Regions from separate parts of the Homo sapiens genome. Here region 1 is linked to region 2. Evidence: promoter capture Hi-C in 16 types of primary human blood cells and fetal thymus (Javierre and others, 2016). All regions are on one chromosome and are shown on one strand. Each heading gives the region's core, a stretch centred on a gene start or on the middle of the fragment in contact. The rest is flanking DNA. Distances are from core to core; before and after follow the strand shown. Region 1 overlaps SLC14A2 (solute carrier family 14 member 2). Region 2 holds the start of HAUS1 (HAUS augmin like complex subunit 1).

What was found. The method cuts DNA at HindIII sites, captures the fragments that hold promoters and counts their contacts. A CHiCAGO score of 5 or more calls a contact.
Region 1: a contact is called between a fragment that was not itself captured here and the fragment with the promoter of HAUS1 in region 2, in 1 of 17 cell types (total CD8 T cells). The highest score is 5.6, in total CD8 T cells.

The regions. Positions count from the first base shown.
Region 1 is chr18:45,672,916-45,675,615 of GRCh38, forward strand. It overlaps SLC14A2 (solute carrier family 14 member 2), which reads left to right. Exons shown (of 20, transcript NM_007163.4): 17 at 1-132; 18 at 768-902. The region is part of intron 7 of LOC105372093 (a long non-coding RNA gene); the gene reads right to left. Among named protein-coding and RNA genes, the nearest start is that of SLC14A1, 50 kb to the right of the region's middle. The HindIII fragment of the contact is 3,136 bases long and covers 1-2,700 here.
Region 2 is chr18:46,103,025-46,105,724 of GRCh38, forward strand. It overlaps HAUS1 (HAUS augmin like complex subunit 1), which reads left to right and starts at 1,361. Exons shown (of 9, transcript NM_138443.4): 1 at 1,361-1,417; 2 at 2,170-2,344. The coding sequence starts at 1,388. It also overlaps a transcript of ATP5F1A not described here. RefSeq lists a silencer at 1,186-1,285 and an enhancer at 1,676-1,765. The HindIII fragment of the contact is 1,925 bases long and covers 1-1,875 here.

The DNA.
Region 1 (2,700 bases), core at 139-2,638, 430 kb before region 2:
CCGTTGGAATTGGCCAAGTGTACGGCTGTGATAACCCCTGGACTGGAGGCATCTTCCTCATAGCTCTGTTCATATCCTCACCTCTCATTTGCTTGCATGCAGCAATTGGATCCACCATGGGGATGCTAGCAGGTCTGTGTCCTCACTTCCCTGGGCTGTGAGGGGGTTAGAGCCTGGGGCCAGCTCCAAATAAAATGGTGACTCTCATCTTCAACACTCCACCTGCTGATTCCTGTGAACTTTCCCTCCTTCTGTTGTACCCTGTTTCTCCGTTTTTGATCTAGCCCCTTTATCCTCCCCTGAGCCACAGCTGCCCTCAAGAAAGGCTTTGGTGTTAGTCATTCACACCTTAGTATAAATTTAAAGTTTGGGGGAAGTTTCTTCCAGGTATATTTACATGTTAAGTGATCTGCAATGACAGCAAGAAAGATTCGTTCTCCATTAGAGAATTAAGGTATCGATGAAGGAGGAGAGGTTCTCTTTCTTGGCAGGGGAAGGATATTCTCTGGACTGTTTAAATCAGACTTCTGTCCTTACTCAAAGAATCTCTTCAACCCATGCCAGCTTAACTGCTAGTATTCATGGGACTCTATGGCCATTTGTTTCCTTTAGATGTTTTTTCACAGAATAAAGCCAGAAGTCCTTTTTGTATAACTACCTAAGAAGATAACTGGCTCCGGGCTTTGAGGACTGTGGTAGGTTTCAGGGCCAGCAGATGGGCCCCATAAGACCCTAGACCCAACCCTGATGCCTGCCTTCTGTCACAGCACTCACTATTGCGACGCCCTTTGACTCCATCTACTTCGGCCTGTGTGGCTTCAACAGCACCCTCGCATGCATAGCGATAGGAGGCATGTTCTACGTCATCACCTGGCAGACGCACCTCCTCGCCATCGCCTGCGGTAGGTACTCCCCACAGAGGATTTGTTTCCTTTATAAAAGGCTTTTTACATAAAACTGTTTTTTTATGTTTTTTAATGGTTATTTAGTAATTAATAGATTAAACACTATTTTCACTGAATACTCAACGTTCAGTCACATGAAGACGGTGGTGGAGGTTTGATTGTTGTTCCTGGGCTGTCTCCTGTGATTGCTACTCTCCTGGCGGGGGTTGGAGCAAACTGGCTGAGCAACTCTTATGCAGGTTACTCGTTACATATGGAATTGGGTGATTTACGTCTTCTACAGCGATTCACCTTAAGCATTCAAACATTAACCACAGACCCTTCAAATGACTCCTCTTTGTTATATATTTGTTCAGAGTCCCAGGAAATTAGATCGACTGTAACAAGTTGGTAGATTTGTATGTCCTCATCCTTGAACATCCTTTATTTCTTGATGTTATATGACTGGAAACCAAACAAAACTCCTTTTGAGCAGAACATTTAAAACAGAAGTTCTATTTCAATACATCTGTAGACTCTGTGAACATTATCTATATAAACTTATTTTTAAAAATAAATTTATAATAAAAATTTTCCAAATATTCTTGCTCGGGAAGATGTTCTGGATCAGCTATGGCCACATATTTGTTTCCTTAAGATAATTTGTAGATATATTTTCTTTTGCATTTTATGACAGTGACTACGAACTCTAAACAAGATACGAAGGGTAAAGCTGCTGTCTTTTTCATTTGCTCTTCTTAAAATTACTTTTTGCTACACCAACCTAAGGCCAGCACACTGTAGTTACTTAAAAAAAAAAAAAGTAGCTGTCATATTGCCCAAATAAAAGGTAGCCATTCACCTAACACCCACCACAAAGTAGGCACTTTAAATACGTCATCTCTACCTTAACACTAATTCTCAAGGTTGGTATTACTATTCGTATTTTGCAAACGAGGAAAAGTTGTGTCAAAGAGCAAGACTAAGGTGAGACAAGGGAGACACGTGGGATGCAAAATTTAAGGAGGTGCTTACTCTCAGGGCCAAGCAGGTGATGACCCTGACATATCCCCATGACCCTGAGAGTGAAGGCCACTTGAAATTTTGCACCCCAGGTGCTTCACTCACCTCCCCAAGTCCCAGCCTTGACAAAGAGGTGAAGTGGCTCAACTGCGTGTAAAAGACAAGGCTGAGACATGAAGCTAGGTCTTCCTCCATCCGAACTCATTAAACTCCCCACCCCCTTTCCCAGCATGGCACCTCTCTCTATTCCAGAAGCCTCTGATAAATCAAGGTGCACTCACTGGTTTCAAGGAAACTGAGTCACATCATCTCCCAAAAGTGCCAATGAGCCTGACGATCTCAGGAAACATGAGAATACACTAAAGTGAATTTTAAGCCCCTGTAGGTGGATCCTTGAACTTTTAGACAGACTACACAGTAATAATATCTAACATTTATTGGTTTTCACCAAAATACTTTTCCAAATATTACTCCATTTTATCATTTTTAGAAGCTGAAAACTCCAGCTTTATTTTGTAGCCGTGGTGCCTGAGGCTAAGGGAGGTAAAAGGACTTGCCTGTGGGCAGAGGTAGAGTCAACCCTCCTTCTACAAGTTAAAGAAAGACCTGGAAGCATCCAGTGATGTACGTATAGACCAAAAATGGGAAAGCAGTCTATAACACATACAAGTGGAGTTTGGGGGGCGTTTTACTGTTGTTGTTGTTGTTTTGAGACAGGGTCTTACTCTGTTGCCCAGGCTGGAGTGCAGTGGCATGATCACGGCTCACTGCAGCCTCAACTTCCCAGGCTCAA
Region 2 (2,700 bases), core at 111-2,610:
GGTGTGTTGGCTCACACCTGTAATCCTAGCTCTTTGAGAGGCCGAGGCAGGCAGATCACTTGAGGTCAGGAGTTTGAGACCAGCCTGATCAACGTGGTGAAACCCCCCGTTCTACTAAAAATAAAAAAATTATCCCTGCATGCTAGCACAAGCCTGTAATCCCAGCTACTAGAGAGGATGAGACAGGAGAATTGCTTGAGCCTGGGGACGGGGGTTGGAGGTCGCAGTGAGCCAAGATCATGTCACTCTGCACTCCAGCCTAAGCGACAGAGAAACACTCCATCTCAAAAAGAAAAGAAAAGGTCGGGCGCAGTGCCTGTAATCCCAGCACTTTGGGAGGCCAAGGCGGGCGGATCACCTGAAGTCAGGAGTTCGAGACCAAGCTGGCCAACCTGATGAGATCCCATCTTTACTAAGATACAAAAAATTAGCTGGGCGTGGTGATGCACACCTGTAATCCCAGCTACTCGGAAGGCTGAGGCAGGAGAATCGCTTGAACCCGGGAAGCAGAGGTGGCAGTGAGCTGAGAGCCGAGAGCCGAGATCGTGCCACTGCCCTCCAGCCTGAACAACAGAGACTCCATCTCAAAAAAAAAAAAAAAAAAAAAAAAGCTGGGCGCGCTGGCTCACGCCTGTAATCCCAGCACTTTGGGAGGCCGAGGTGGGCGGATCATGAGGTTAGGAGTTCGAGACCAGCCTGGCCAATATGGTGAAACCCCGTCTCTACTAAAAACACAAAAATTAGCCAGGCGTGGTGGCGCTTGCCCGTAGTCCCAGCTACTTGGGAGGCTGAGACAGAAGAATCGCTTGAACCCAGGAGGCAGAGGTTGCAGTGAGCCGAGATCATGCCACTGCACTCCAGCCTGGGCGACAAAGCGAGACTCTGTCTCAAAAAAAAAAAATGTCCCTAGTTTTTAGGTTGGGGGAACTAACGGATCAAGTTAAGATTGCCTCAGCTCATATTGCCAGGGTAGAATATAAATTCTGAGTGGATGCAATCAATGTGGAAGAAACACAAACATCTTGCTAAGCAAGAACCAAACGTTTCAAGTACTTTTTTTTAACGACAAGTGATTCAAACAAGAAATAAAAATAAAAGAAAGAAAAAACAACCTGGTTCTAGGCGGCTCTATCTCTCGTAGTGTTGATTATACCGCGGAAGGCGGGAAGAGCTGGGAAGTGGCAACGAAGCGAGGCTTGCAATGCCAGAGCCTTCGACCAGCCTTGCACAGGGGCTCAACGGCCAGGAGTCTCAGGTAAAACCACAACTCCCAGAAATCCCGGGCCCGGCGAGGGGCGGGTGCCAACGGCGTGTGGGCGGGGCCTAGGGAGTGAGCGGGGCGCATCTCCCGCTAGGAGTTCCTAGTAAAGTGGCGGGAGCCGCAGCTATGGAGCCGCAGGAGGAGAGAGAAACGCAGGTGATGGGGCGGGAATGGGGATCGTTGGCCTCCTGGAAAACGCGTTTTTGACACCCCCGCGCCGACAGCGGGTCTCCTGTGCGCGCCACGTCTACTTTTCTCTCCCCTATTCCACACATCCGTCTTTTAGTGCCGCCGTCACTATCTGCAAGCCCCCCGTGCTTAGACTCTCCTGAAGGCCTTTCCCTTCCTGCCCGGGCCTCCCCTTGTTTGGATCTGGCCCGGGAGAGGCGTTGAGCAGCCCGTGTCCACAGACTCTGGAGTGGGACTTATGAAGCCAAACCCGCCTTCCGGTTCGCTGCTCAGCCCGGCGGCTTCCACATCTGAACTGCTTCCGCGCCCTGCATCCCAACACTGGGAGCCTCCCGGCGCGGCGGGGCTTCTGGTGATCGAGGGACAATTGCTTTTTTCAGACCATGCACGGTCTAATAATGCGTTCGCATTATTATGGTCTATTAAGCTTTAAGGTTTTTCAAGCGAGGCAAATTGTTAGCCTGTACCGCTTTTGCAGATTTGGAAAAGAACGGATTGTTCTCTGGTAATTTTCAGTATTGTACGTTTCTTTGTGTACTTGCTCACTTTTTATTTCCTGATATCTAGTATCTCCCTAAAGACAAGTGAGGTTGTGAAGTAGGACTCCAAAATAGTCACAGAAAGCATTTAGTTTGCTTTTGATCACTTCTTTGTCATATTCTCATCGAGCCATTACAGTAAACAAGGCTTATAATATTTGTCTTTCTTTTAATGGTTAGGTTGCTGCGTGGTTAAAAAAAATATTTGGAGATCATCCTATTCCACAGTATGAGGTGAACCCACGGACCACAGAGATTTTACATCACCTTTCAGAACGCAACAGGGTCCGGGACAGGGATGTCTACCTGGTAATAGAGGACTTGAAGCAGAAAGCAAGTGAATACGAGTCAGAAGGTGAGATTAAGTCCAGAGTTTTGAACGAGAATAAATAGAGGTAACCAAATTTTATAACACTAAAGTATACAGGATTAATTTACTGTAGACTACTTGTTTTGCTCCTTTATTTTTCCCAGATTTTCTTCCACTCTGTTATAGTAGTAACTTTATTGTTTTATGTTTATATATATGTATATGTATGTGTGTGTGTGTGTGTGTGTGTGTGTGTGTGTGTGTGTGTGTATATATTTTAGACAATCTTGCTCTGTCGCCCAGGCTGGAGTGCAGTGGTGTGATCTCAGCTCACTGCAACCTCCATCTCCTGGGTTCAAGTGATTCTCATGCCTCAGCCTCCCAAGTAGCTGGGACTACAG